3 separate regions of the Homo sapiens genome follow, and all the other regions are linked to region 1. The links are contacts of gene promoters, found by promoter capture Hi-C in blood cells and fetal thymus (Javierre and others, 2016). All regions are on one chromosome and are shown on one strand. The core of a region is centred on a gene start or on the middle of the fragment in contact, and the rest is flanking DNA. Distances in the headings are between cores, read along the strand shown.

Evidence for each region. Contacts are between HindIII fragments. The CHiCAGO score rates a contact against its expected background, and 5 or more counts as called.
Region 2: a contact is called between a fragment that was not itself captured here and the fragment with the promoter of KCNN3 in region 1, in 9 of 17 cell types (M1 macrophages, M0 macrophages, M2 macrophages and 6 more). The highest score is 9.2, in M1 macrophages.
Region 3: a contact is called between a fragment that was not itself captured here and the fragment with the promoter of KCNN3 in region 1, in 8 of 17 cell types (activated CD4 T cells, M0 macrophages, naive CD4 T cells and 5 more). The highest score is 7.3, in activated CD4 T cells.

What each region holds. Positions count from the first base shown.
Region 1 is chr1:154,867,534-154,872,233 of GRCh38, reverse strand. It overlaps KCNN3 (potassium calcium-activated channel subfamily N member 3), which reads left to right and starts at 1,953. Exons shown (of 8, transcript NM_002249.6): 1 at 1,953-3,202. The coding sequence starts at 2,270. RefSeq lists enhancers at 2,084-2,173, 1,246-2,202, 3,610-4,129. The HindIII fragment of the contact is 14,105 bases long and covers 1-4,700 here.
Region 2 is chr1:154,531,930-154,536,629 of GRCh38, reverse strand. The region is part of intron 6 of TDRD10 (tudor domain containing 10); the gene reads right to left. Among named protein-coding and RNA genes, the nearest start is that of UBE2Q1-AS1, 19 kb to the left of the region's middle. The HindIII fragment of the contact is 1,517 bases long and covers 1,825-3,341 here.
Region 3 is chr1:154,594,660-154,599,359 of GRCh38, reverse strand. It overlaps ADAR (adenosine deaminase RNA specific), which reads left to right. Exons shown (of 15, transcript NM_001111.5): 3 at 775-958; 4 at 1,384-1,532; 5 at 2,093-2,237; 6 at 2,365-2,555. Among named protein-coding and RNA genes, the nearest start is that of ADAR, 11 kb to the left of the region's middle. The HindIII fragment of the contact is 5,008 bases long and covers 115-4,700 here.

The DNA.
Region 1 (4,700 bases), core at 704-3,203:
GGCTCAAGCAGTCCTCCTCCCTCAGCCTCCTGGGTAGCTGGACTACAGGCACTCGCCACCATGTCCAGCTAATTTAAAAAATTTTGTAGAGTCTGGGTCTTGCTATGTTGTCCAGGCTGGTCTCGAACTCCTGACTTCAATCAACCCTCCTGCCTTGGGCTCCCAAAGTGCTGGGATTATAGGCATGAGCCACCATGCCTGGCCAGAATCAAGATTATTGTGCAAGAGTAATTGTCACGTATCTGGGGTCGTGGCTTGTATTACAAGTAATATTTAGCTCTCAATCATCAGGGTTAATGGGGGATTGGAGAGGTGAGAACTGATATACAGAGGGGACTCTGGGCTCATTTTGGGGGGGCTCTGTCCCTCCCTGATCTGGACACTTGCTGCTTACCAGTCAGGAATGCTGTTTTAGGAGCTTCCTATGTGTATATGTGTGCATGTGTGCATGCATGGGCTAGTGTGTGCACACAACCATGTACACATGTGCACATATGTCCACCTGCTTACATGTTTTCTGGATGTGTGTCTGTGTATGTGTGCATGGATCTCCTACCCTTTCCTCTTCCCATCGAGGGAGGGAGCTGGACAGAGGCCAAAGGGTGATGGGGAATCAAGAGCCAGAGAGGAAGAGGCCTGCCTTTTAAAACCCCAGGTGTTCTGGGGAATTCCCTCATGGTGACTTCCTTTCTGATTCCTAAGGCTGCTGTGGTTAGAAATGAAAATGAATTCAGCTCTGGTCCCATCCTTTGGAACCCCCTCTGCACACAGTGGGGGCTTAATAAATACTTGATGATGATGGTTCTGAACCTGGGAAGCCAGCAGCTGTTCCTAGTTCTGACTCTCAGAGCCCCATGGGGCAAATCAGGCAGGGAATGACCATGGGGGAATCTTCAGTCTTCCTGCCAGATCCCCCTGTGACTACACACCCAGCTGTTAGGGAAGGGGCTGGAGCCATGGTCCACTTCACACACCCTGCTTTGGAGAGGCCAGTTCTTCCTCAGCAGCTTCTCTTTTGTTTTCCCCAACTAACATTTGAACAATATTTATTGAACAACCACTTTGTACTGAATATCATAGTGGAAATGCATCCTGGGAGAAAGTATCTGATCTGTGGGGTCAGACTGACTAAGTTCAAATCCCAGCATCTTTAATTACAAGCGGGATGACATCTGACAAGTTACATATCTATGTTTGAGCGTTTGAGTGTTTTTTCCACTTTCCTTTCTCTCCTTCTTCTCCTTCTCCTTCTTCTTCTTCTTCTTCCAATTTTCATCTGTAAAAGGAGAGTGATGACATCATTTTTGTGGGGTTGATGTGAGGGTTGGAAATAACAGAGAGGACCCTGAACACGAGGCGTAGGCACTCAGTCAATGGTAGGTGAGTTTATCCACCGGGTGTTAGAAGGTGTGGATCCCCCCTGCTTCTGTGACCTTGACGTTGTTACTCAACACCTCTAAGCATCAGGCTTTGTAAATGAGACCATACTGCCCACCTCCTTGGGTGTTTGGAGACTGTATCCGGATAATATATGTGAAACAACCTATCGTAAACCCTGGTGGTTAATAAATGTTTGCCTTCCCCTCCGTCTGCCCCCTCATCAGGGTGCACACCTCCCCTCCTTCGGAGGCCCTCTGTCCCTCCTCCCCATCGCCCAGCGTGAGCGAACATCCCTTATCGCCGTGGGCTTAAGGGTTGTGGCCATACCTGTCAGAGGAAAGAGGACAGCGGCTCAGCTCCGGGGTGGGGGAGCAAAAACTACAGTTCCCAGTCCTCGCTGCGCCGCCACTGGGGCCGGAGCCCAGGACGCCAGGCCCCTCCTCTGGGGAGGAGCCTATGCGGGGGGCGGAGCTAGGAGGAGGTTGGAGAGTTAAGCCAAGCCAATGAGACCAGCTGCTAATAAGTGGGCTTGGCTTACAATGTAACAGTGGCAGGAGGAGGCGAGCGAAGCTATTGAGCCAGCGAGGAGTGAAGCTGAGCCTGGCCTCACACGCTCCTAGAGGACCACCTCCTGAGAGAGTTCTTTCACCCCCTCTTCTTTCTCCAAGCTCCCCTCCTGCTCTCCCTCCCTGCCCAATACAATGCATTCTTGAGTGGCAGCGTCTGGACTCCAGGCAGCCCCAGAGAACCGAAGCAAGCCAAAGAGAGGACTGGAGCCAAGATACTGGTGGGGGAGATTGGATGCCTGGCTTTCTTTGAGGACATCTTTGGAGCGAGGGTGGCTTTGGGGTGGGGGCTTGTGCTGCAGGGAATACAGCCAGGCCCCAAGATGGACACTTCTGGGCACTTCCATGACTCGGGGGTGGGGGACTTGGATGAAGACCCCAAGTGCCCCTGTCCATCCTCTGGGGATGAGCAGCAGCAGCAGCAGCAGCAGCAACAGCAGCAGCAGCCACCACCGCCAGCGCCACCAGCAGCCCCCCAGCAGCCCCTGGGACCCTCGCTGCAGCCTCAGCCTCCGCAGCTTCAGCAGCAGCAGCAGCAGCAGCAGCAGCAGCAGCAGCAGCAGCCACCGCATCCCCTGTCTCAGCTCGCCCAACTCCAGAGCCAGCCCGTCCACCCTGGCCTGCTGCACTCCTCTCCCACCGCTTTCAGGGCCCCCCCTTCGTCCAACTCCACCGCCATCCTCCACCCTTCCTCCAGGCAAGGCAGCCAGCTCAATCTCAATGACCACTTGCTTGGCCACTCTCCAAGTTCCACAGCTACAAGTGGGCCTGGCGGAGGCAGCCGGCACCGACAGGCCAGCCCCCTGGTGCACCGGCGGGACAGCAACCCCTTCACGGAGATCGCCATGAGCTCCTGCAAGTATAGCGGTGGGGTCATGAAGCCCCTCAGCCGCCTCAGCGCCTCCCGGAGGAACCTCATCGAGGCCGAGACTGAGGGCCAACCCCTCCAGCTTTTCAGCCCTAGCAACCCCCCGGAGATCGTCATCTCCTCCCGGGAGGACAACCATGCCCACCAGACCCTGCTCCATCACCCTAATGCCACCCACAACCACCAGCATGCCGGCACCACCGCCAGCAGCACCACCTTCCCCAAAGCCAACAAGCGGAAAAACCAAAACATTGGCTATAAGCTGGGACACAGGAGGGCCCTGTTTGAAAAGAGAAAGCGACTGAGTGACTATGCTCTGATTTTTGGGATGTTTGGAATTGTTGTTATGGTGATAGAGACCGAGCTCTCTTGGGGTTTGTACTCAAAGGTAGGGGCTGTGGTTTCTCTTTATACCTTGAACAAAAGGAATATGTAGGTAGCAAGAGAGGGATTGAGAGAGGGGGATTGTGAGAGAGAGAGATTGAGAGAGAGAGAGAGAGAGAGAGAGAGAGAGAGAGATTGAGAGATTGGGAGGGAGACTGGGAGAGAGAGGTGGTGGTGGTGGTGAGAGGCGCTTGCTCAGTTATATTCAACACTCTAACTTCCCGTGGTTTTCCTTCTTGATCCCGGGAGAATTCATTCCTAGCTTCCTCTGGGGGGTAGGGGACATCCCCACACACTGTGTCTAATTTGCAGACTCTCTGTTAGGGAGGATTCAATAATCCCTTCTGAGAAATCGCTTTTCCTCCTGGCTCACTCGTACTAAAGCATAACCCAGCAGCTTAACGCACCAATTAATTACACTCCGCCTTCATGTGTTTGCCAGTTCCTGCGACTTCCCCTTCTTTCCTCCCCTCCCTGCTCCACTCCATTTTCCTGAGGATAAAAAAGAAATAAATGTCTGGGTGGGGGGTGGGGATTCCGTACCATTGCCCAAGTCCCTTCTCTCCCTGTCTTCTCCATCTCTTCCCAAGTTTCTGTTTCCCTCCTCTTCTCAGAGAGTCTCGGGCAAAATAGAAAACCATCCATGACCTGGGTCTCCTGAGGGCATGGGGTAAAAATATAGGTGGAGGAAATCAGTGGTCCTTTCCCTCAGGAGAGAGGACTCAGAATAAACCTGCTGCTGCTTCGTAAACATCTCCTGATAAAAATGGCTACAGGTGTTACCTGGGCAGAGCAGCTGGGCGCCGCCTTGGAATCAGCTGGGGGAGCACCTCTCCTTGGGACGGGATGACAGGGCTTCCCAGGCGGTCCCCACAAGCCCGCGCCCCAGCTCAGCCCCAGTTCTCCCCTCCCACCTCAACTCCTCCTTGGGATAAATAAAGATGAGTGTGTGTGTGAGTGCGCGCCCGGATGGAGAACAGCAGGCACTGGCTTTAGCGGGGAGCTGGCCCCACTGCTCCAGCCTCTCAGTCCAGCCCCAAGACGGAGGAGGGGGTTTCCCTCCCAGAGGGAGTGGAGATGGAGGAAGGTGGGTTTCTGCCGATGCTCTGCTTGCCGGGGAGCTCTCCTGCTGTGGGCTGGAAGGCTTGGAGACCTGGGAATCGGTGGACAAGTGGCTCCACGATACCCCCACCCCCAATTTGTTGGTGTGTGTGTGTGTATGTGCGTAATGTTTGTACGTATGCATGCGCCTGCTTGTTGCTTGGGTTTTTCTATTTATTTGTCATTTGGGGCAGGGGGTGGCTTGGTGGGGGGGTGGCTGGGCGGGCTGGCCATCGGGTAGCTGGGAGGGGTTCAGCTGTTGGAGGTTTCAAATAGAGCTTGTTTCAGGCAGGGCACAGCTGCTGCGAGACTGTCACATTCCTTATTGAAATCCAGCCGCAAAAACCTAGGAGGTGCTGATCGGATTTCCCCCATTCCCAGCATCTCACTTTAATCGGTGA
Region 2 (4,700 bases), core at 1,334-3,833, 340 kb after region 1:
TGACAGTGGTTACATGCTGCACGCACTGGTCAAAATTCGTCAAGCTGTACACTTAAATGGGTTCACTTTAAGTAAATTATACTTCAGTAAGTATATCGAATACTTCAACAAAGTTGATTTTCTAAAATATAAGAATGGGTTCTATCTGGCTATGTCACCCCCTGCTCAAAGCCTCCAGTGTTCTCATTATTATGTGACTGCAAATCCTATTGAATCAAGTTATGTGTTATTTTTATTCTTAAGCAACTTTGTTAAGATGGAGTTTCGCTCTTGTTGTCCAGGCTGGAGTGCAACGGCACAATCTCAGCTCACCGCAACCTCTGCCTCCCAAGTTCAAGCAAATCTCCTGCCTCACCCTCCTGAGTAGCTAGGATTACAGGCATGTGCCACCACGCCCAGCTAATTTTTGTATTTTTAGTAGAGACGGGGTTTCACCATGTTGGCCAGGCTGGTCTCGAACACCTGACCTCATGATCCACCCACCTCGGCCTCCCAAAGTGCTGGGATTACAGGCGTGAGCCACTGCGCCCGGCCTGCAACCTTTTCTTAGGAATTAACTGCTGCTTTTTCCCCAGTCCATTTACTTGGATTTCCTTGAATCTTTGGCTAAGTTTTCCTATAACCTCCAGTGGCTCTTCATAATACCGCTCCTCTCAATTTTACATTTTTCTTCCTGCCAACGTCACCGCTGGAGTCTCACCCCGTCCTGCTCTGCCCTGGACTGCCTGCTGCACAGCAACTGTTCCAGGACTGCCTTTGGCCAATCTGGGAAGCCTCTCATCTCTCTCCTCTTGGATCTGGGTTGGATACCAGATCCCGTCTTGTTTTGGCTTACTGATTCATTTTTGTTGGAACACACTCCTTCATAGCTTTCTGAGAACAGGTACATGGGGCACACATTTTTTGAGACCCTATCTTTCTGAGCAAGTCTTTTTCAACCTTTTTTTAAAAGTGACAGTGTCTTACTTTGTTACCCAGGCTGGAGTGCTGGCACAATCATAGCTCACTGCAACCTCAAACTCCTTCAGGTCAAGTGATCCTCCCATCTCAGCCTCACCAGTAGCTGGGACTACATGTGTGTGCCACCACACCCGGCACATTTTTTGTCGACAGGGTTGCCCAGGATGTTCTCAAACTCCTGGCCTGAAGCAATCCTCCCACCTCAGCTTCCCAAATCCCAAATTCCAAAGCACTGGGATTACAGGTACACACCACTGCAGATGGCTTACCCTTATATTCTCTCTCTCTTTTTTTTTTTTTCTTGAGATGGAGTCTCACTCTGATGCCCAGGCTGGAGTGCAGTGGCATGATCTCAGCTCACTGCAACCTCTGCCTCCCAGGTTCCAGGGATTCTCCTGCCTCAGCCTCCCGAGTAGCTGGAATTACAGGTGTGCACCACCACGCTTGGCTAATTTTTGTATTTTTAATAGAGATGGAGTTTCACCATGTTAGCCAGGCTGGTCTCAAACTCCTGACTTCAAGTGATCCGCCCACCTCGGCCTCCCAAAGTGCTACCCTTATTCTTGACTGACTTGTTTGGGCTTGGATATTATTTTCCTGAAGAATTCAATCACACCACCTGATTCCATATCCTTCAATGTGGATTCTCTTCCTAAAGCTTTATCCCTAGTATTCTAAAATACTTCTGTAAAGTGCCTTCATGTAGGTTTTTATTTTCCCATTCATTATCCTGGGCACTCATTGGCTGCTTTGTATCTGAAAACTCACATCCTTCACCCATGGGAAATTATCTTATATCATTTGATAATCTCTCCCCCACGCTGACCTGAACACTGCCTGGATGCGTGTTGTGCCACGTAAGCTTATCTTCTAATTTTACCTTTTCTTTTCTTTAAAACAATTTCACTACAAAATATTTCAATCAACAAATCCTCTCCCCAAAAAGCAATAACAAATCTTGACAAATTGTCAAAAACAATCACTTCAGGACTCTGGAAATTGACTGAAGCATACAAGAAATTGAAAACATCTATTAAAAAGAAAACAATAACAACAACGACTGACCTTTGTACGAAAACAGTGAGCATCTGGGGCTTCCCCACTCCCCACTCCTTCAGCGGATAGTTCTACCAGGATGGGCAAAGCCATGGAAACCAGGAGCATCAAAGGTGGCTGACTTGATCGGAGCAGGCTATGGAAAACCACCAGGTGTTGTCAGAAACTGCCACCTCGTGGTAAGCAACGGGAAAGTTGCAGCCTGGCTTTTATGCATCTTCACCTACAAAAGGTGCCTATTCCTAGCTCTTGCCCATTTTTCTATTAGGTTGTTTCTTTCTTGCATTGATTTCCAGGCATTTTCATCCTGTTTATTTTTGTTTTTTAAAAAATAGCCTAGATCTTAACCCAGGAACTGGCAAACTTTTTCTGCAAAGGGCCAGATAGTAAATATTTTAGATTTTGGGGGCCTTACTGTCTGTCATGAGTCCACTCTGCTGCTGTAGTGAGGAAGCAGCCACAGGCAATCTGTAAACAAATGGCTGAGGCTGCATGCCAGGAATGTTTCATGGACACAAACTGAATTTCATACAATTTTCATGTGTCATGAAATATTCTTCATTTTTTTTCCCATTTAAAAATACGGCTGGGGGGTCTCACGCCTATAATCCCAGCAGTTTGGGAAGTGGAGACACGAGGATTGCTTGCCAGGAGTTCAAGACCAGCTTGGGCAACATAGTGGGACCCCATCTCTACAAACAATAGAAAATTAAAAAAAAATATATATATATATATATATGGCTGGGCACAGTGGCTGCCCTGCAATCCCAGCACTTTGGGAGGCTAAAGCAGGAGGATTGCTTGAGGCCAAATCAGCTGGGCATGGTGGTACACGCCTGTAGTCCCAGCTACTCACGAGGCTGAGGCAGGACTGCTTGAGCCCAGGAGTTCGAGGCTGCAGTAAGTTCAGATCACACCACTGCACTCCAGTCTGGGCAACAGAGCAAGACCCTGCTCTAAAAATATAAATAAATAAAAACCATTCTTAGAACCTCCACTCTGAGAAGATGAAATATACATACTTCATCTTAGTTTTGTTAAACACAACTAAGAGCCCAGGACATTACATGTAAAACAAACATAAGAAGACTCTGAAAGATGGAGAGAAGGGAACAGGCTGACCAGAGACCTTGGAACCCAGGGTACAACGTGGTGATGACTTCTCTGGGTTTTCCTTTTGCTTTATATATTCCAAACTTAGAATTGAAGAGGCCAGCAACCCAGAAACACCAGTAGGTCCAGAAAAAAAAAAAAAAAAAACCCAACAAAAGCCTGCTCTTTCTAGCCAAAGCACCAGAAGAGACAGGCTAGGAAGACAGAAAGCTTGTAGATAATAACTCCTTTACTCCAGCTAAATGCCACCAACAAGGAGATCCCACCTCCACGCATGCCAACAAAGACAGCATGCAGGGCCCAGACTTCTGCCCTCATGGGGCTGGGATGAGTCGCCCAATACCCCCACCCTGATGGTGTCACAAAGGGCCAAGCAGGCAGCCAGGAATTTCATCCCCTACCCAATAAAGAAACCGGTCTCTCCCTACCACCACCCTGCCTGGGTGTCAATAGAAACCACTTGGGAATCCTGGACTTCCATACCCACCTCACAGAGAGAAAGCCCCCCTCTCTCTCCCTACTGGGGGGGGTGTCAGAAGTGTAGTGGAGAGTCAAGACTTTCCTCAGCGGTAATGAAGCCATCCACGCCAAGATGTCAGTGGAGACCACAAACTAGAACTGGCAGTAACAAGGGGCTCGCTGCCGCCTTAGAGGCTGAGTAGGGAGCCTGACTTCCATCCTCACCTGGCAGCAGCGAGGCAGTACCGTGTTCCCCTGTGGGAGCAGCATCAGAGGAAGCCAGTTAAAACACAAGGTGTATACAAAATCTAGTCTAGCAACGTAACAAGAAAATGTCCAAGTTTCCAGTGAAACTCACTCATCATACCAAGAACCAGGAAAATTTCACATGGAATGAAAAAAATGAGAGGCGACAGCGTGCTGGCAGCCCTCGCAGCCCTCGCTCGCTCTCGGTGCCTCCTCAGCCTCGGCGCCCATTCTGGCCGCGCTTGAGGAGCCCTTCAGCCCGCCGCTGCACCGTGGGAGCCCTTCTCTGGGCTGGCCGAGGCCAGAGCTGGCTCCCTCGGCTTGCAGGCAGGTGTGGAGGGAGAAGCACAGGTGGGAACCAGGGCTGCGCGCGGTGCTTGCAGGACAGCTAGAGTTCTGGGTGGGCGTGGGCTTTGCGGGCCGCACTCAGAGCGGCCCCGGGCAGTGAGGGGCTTAGCACCCAGGCCAGCAGCTGCGGAGGGTGCACCAGGTCCCGCAGCAGTGCTGGCCCACTGGTGCTGCGCTTGATTTCTCACCAGGCCTTAGCTGCCTCCCCGCAGGGCAGGGCTTGGGACCTGCAGCCCGCCATGCCTGAGTCTCCCCACCACCCCGCCATGGGCTCCTGCGCTGCCTGAGCCTCCCCGATGAGCAACGCCCCCTGCTCCACAGCACCTGGTCCTATCAACCACCCAAGGGCTGAGGAGTGTGGGCGCACAGCACCCGCCTGGCAGGCAGCTCCACCTGTGGCCCCGGTGCGAGATCCACTGGGTGAAGCCAGCTGGGTTCCTGAGTCTAGTGGGTACTTGGAGAACCTTTATGACTAGCTAAGGGATTGTAAATACACCAATCAGCGCTCTGTGTCTAGC
Region 3 (4,700 bases), core at 1,369-3,868, 270 kb after region 1:
AGAAACATTGGTGCCATGTTCAAATATATCAGAAGACCTAGGAAATAAGAAATTTGACCTACTTTTCTAAATGAAATCCCAGACTGAGCAAAGAGCTCACCACATTTGAAAGCTTGAACAAAGGGGGCCTAGGCTAAGTCCAGAGGCCTAGAACAAATGCTTTTTTATTTTCTACATAACAAGGGGAAATTCCTTGTTATGTAGAAAATAGCTGGAGACAAATGGTGCTATAGAGTGACTCATAACAAACTACGGTGATATAGGTCTAGGGACAAAAGCAGGCCACTGATAAGTGGCAGATGCCTGATCCCCCTAGGTAGTGGGGAGTGTGAGACTGGGTTATAAGAAGCCTTCACTATCTTTTAGGACCCTCCCTTGAGGAGGCCAGTCTACCACAATTGCTTTAGAATGAAGGTCTTTTGGTTGCTCACAAGACTATAATGGTAATTTTTGGCTCATCATTTTTGTGTGTGTGGGTTTTATCTTAATTCATTGTTAAAGAGATAGTGGGTTTCCCCTGAGCTAGTTTCCTATCATCTGTGCCTATGTTTGCTTCACTGAGCTATGGGGAAAGAGTCACTGGCTGCTTTGTTTACAAAAAGAAAGGACAGGCTGAGCCTTAAGGAGTAGGAAGGAGTTCCTTGGCCTACCCTTCATCTCCACAAGTGAAAAGCCCCTTAGCGTAGCAGAAAATTCCAGGTTGAAGGTCTCTTTGGAGAAGGCAGAAGGAGTGACCTAGACTCCTGTTCACACATCTAATCACTTTCCGTCAAGATTTAAATTCCAGGTTGTCATCAATGGCCGAGAGTTTCCCCCAGCTGAAGCTGGAAGCAAGAAAGTGGCCAAGCAGGATGCAGCTATGAAAGCCATGACAATTCTGCTAGAGGAAGCCAAAGCCAAGGACAGTGGAAAATCAGAAGAATCATCCCACTATTCCACAGAGAAAGAATCAGAGAAGGTAGGTGTCCTCCTGCCATCTGGGAGGATCAGTTCCCTGTCAGTGTCTGGATTGTAACTGACTCCCTTGAGGCAATCCCAGCCTAAACAACTGACACCATCTCGGAGTCAGCTTCCCACTCTTCCCTCTACCCTATCTCGCCAGCCCACCTTTCCTCCTCTCATACCCAGCTCCTCTGTCTGCTCCTGTCCCAACATAATTGGATTTACAGAATTTCGGACTTGAAAGAGACCTGAAAGTTTATTGAGGCCAATCTCCTCTCTTGGAAGATGCGGAATGAGAGCTCCAGCAGCCCCTTTAACTTTGGGAAGCCAACCCCTTGACAGGTGGTGGGAATAAAGTCCCCCATCCCCATCCCTTCTTCTGTGATGGACTAACCAGTGTTTTCTTAGTTTTGTTTTCTTCTTGTCTCTCATTTTCTCTAGACTGCAGAGTCCCAGACCCCCACCCCTTCAGCCACATCCTTCTTTTCTGGGAAGAGCCCCGTCACCACACTGCTTGAGTGTATGCACAAATTGGGGAACTCCTGCGAATTCCGTCTCCTGTCCAAAGAAGGCCCTGCCCATGAACCCAAGTATGTCCTACGTGTCCTCTGTCCAGCTGAGGTTTTCTCAGAAAGAAAAAGAGACACATTTTCTTCCTTGCCTCCTCAGGGATGGCAGATTGACCAATTTCTCCTGTTTCAAAATGGGGAAAGGAGGGCTCTGAGGTCCTGGTTGCTGCTTGTGAGGCAGACAATTAGGGATTAGGAATTCAAAGGGAATTCCTGGCCCACCCTCTATCTCCTCTATAAGCACTAGGGAGGTTCACGGCTTGGAGGTCACTCACTGTTGGTGGGACAGAAAGGTACAGGACCTGAGAAGCTCTCTGCCTGTGGGTCTATAGACTCACATGTTCAAGAGAAGTGTTCCTGGAAGAGGTGAAACTAGGTTGATGCTTAAATGTTGAAAGGGGTCAGCCAGGCTAAGAGACACTGGCTGTTCAAGGCAGAAGTGACTGCATGAGATGTGACTGCACAGAGGTGATGTGTTCAAGGAAATTACCAGTAGTGGAGGATGGCAGCCTGGCAGAGGCTAGGTCAGGCTCCTCAGTCAAAACCATTTTAATCCTTCTACGTGCTTCATCTCCTGTCAGGTTCCAATACTGTGTTGCAGTGGGAGCCCAAACTTTCCCCAGTGTGAGTGCTCCCAGCAAGAAAGTGGCAAAGCAGATGGCCGCAGAGGAAGCCATGAAGGCCCTGCATGGGGAGGCGACCAACTCCATGGCTTCTGATAACCAGGTAGGGCGTTTTCCTACTCAAAAGATACAGGTCATTTTTAGCAACTGAGTGGTTTAAGATTGCCAGTGACTCCCTCAACATTTCCTGAAGTGTTTATGGCTCCTCTGTTTGATGGATTCTCCTTTAGCCTGAAGGTATGATCTCAGAGTCACTTGATAACTTGGAATCCATGATGCCCAACAAGGTCAGGAAGATTGGCGAGCTCGTGAGATACCTGAACACCAACCCTGTGGGTGGCCTTTTGGAGTACGCCCGCTCCCATGGCTTTGCTGCTGAATTCAAGTTGGTCGACCAGTCCGGACCTCCTCACGAGCCCAAGTGAGTGTCCTAGTCCTGGCTAATGCATGTGTCACCAGTTGGGGATGGTCTGTAACCCAGGGAAAACAAGGGTGTGCTTTAGCTGTGTAGGACAGAAGGGGCGAGTTGAGGGAAACAAGTCCAGCCCTGTCTCCACGGCCTCTTAGAAGACAATAGACCTGCCAAGAGTGAATGCGTTCACTCTTCCAGTAAGCATGATCCTTTTTAATTTTTTGACTAGTTTTAATTTTTAAAGAAATGTATAGGTACATTAAAAAATCATTCAGGCCAGACATGGTGGCTCACGCCTGTAATCCCAGCACTTTGGGAAGTTGAGGCAGGTAGATTACCTGAGGTCGGGAGTTCAAGACCAGCCGGACCATATGAGGAAACCCTGTCTCTACTAAAAATACAAAAATTAGCTGGGCGTGGCAGCGGGTGCCTGTAATCCCAGCTACTCGGGAGGCAGACAGGAGAATTGATTGAAGCTGGGAGGCGGAGGTTGCAGTGAGCTGAGATCGCACCACTGCACTCCAGCCTGAGCAACAGAGCAAGACTCCATCTTGAAAAAAATCATTCAAGCTGATTGAAAAAGTAGTCATTTCAATGAAAAGTCTCATTTCCGTCTCAGACTTCTAGTTTCCCTCCCTAGACCCATATATTACTATAGCCCTGCATTAGCAACTGGGATGCGGTCTGAGAAGCATGGTTTTGTTGTTGTGAGAACATCAGTGTGTATTTACATAAACCTAGATGGCATGGGCTCCTACACACGTACAGGCTGTATGGTATGGCCGGTTGCTCCTAGGCTACAAACCTGTACAGCATGTAACTGTAGTGAATACTGTGGGCAGCTGCAACACACTGGTAAGTATTGGTGTCTATCTAAACAGCAAAAAGATACAGTAAAAAGACAGCATAAAGGATTAAAAAAATACTACACCTGTATAGGGCGCCTGCCATGAATGGAGCTTGCAGGACTAGAAGTTGCTGTGGGTGAGTCAGCCAGTGAGTGGAGAATGAATATGAGGGCCTAGGACATGACTGTACACTAATGTAGGCTTTGTAAACACTGTTCACTTAGGCTAACTACATTTATTTAAAATATTTTTCTTTAATAAATTAACCTTAGCTTACTGTAACTTTTTTACTTTATTTTTACTTTATTTTTTACTTTATTAACTTTTTTATTTTTTGTTCCTTTTGTAATAATACTTAGCTTAAAACACAAACATGTTGTACTGCTATCCAAAAATATTTCCTTTGTTTATATCCTTAATTCTATAGTCTTTTTTCTGTTTGTAAATTTTTTTATTTTTTTAACTTTTTAAACTTTTTTGTTGAAAGCTAAGATGAAAATACATTAGCTGTTAGCCTAGGCCTACACAGGGTCAGGATCCTCAGTATCACTGTCTTCCACCTCCACGTCTTGTCCCACTGTAAGGTGTTCAGGGGCAATAACATGCATGGGGGCCGTCATCTCCTATGGTAACAGTGCTTTCTGGAATACCTGCCTGAGGCTTTTTTTAGTTACTTATTTTTCTAGAAGTAGAAGGAGTATACGCTGAAATAATGATAAAAATATAGTAAACACATAAGGAGCGTGTAGCCTAGATCCCTCGCATTCACAGTTCACAGTCGAGTTCACACTCCTACAAGAATCTCATGCTGCTGCTGATCCCACAGGAGGCGGAGCTCGGACCAGAATGCTTTCTTGCTCGCCACTCACCTCTTCCTGTGTGCCCAGGTTCCTAACAGGTTACAGAGCCCTGCACTTGGTGATAAGAATTTTTCAGCTCCATCATAATCTTACGGGGCCCCTGTCATATGTGTGATTTATCATTGAACAAAACACTGTTATGCAGTACATGACTATACCAGTTTCTTGAGTCCTTCTAGAAATTGCTGTGCATAACTAGCACATTTTCCCTTTTGTCTTTTTAAACAAGTATATCTTCTGTTTTATACGTTGACTCCTTTACTTACCAGACTTCTTGCATAGCTGCATAGTATTTCATTGAATAGAAGCTGACAAATTCAGTTTCTCAGAAGTAAACATTTAATAGGGACTTAGGAACAGAAATGATGTCTTGGGTGGCTGCAAGATGGTGGATCCCTGCACTTACCCTCCAGAAAGTATGCTTTCTATAGAGGCTTTTTTGGTTA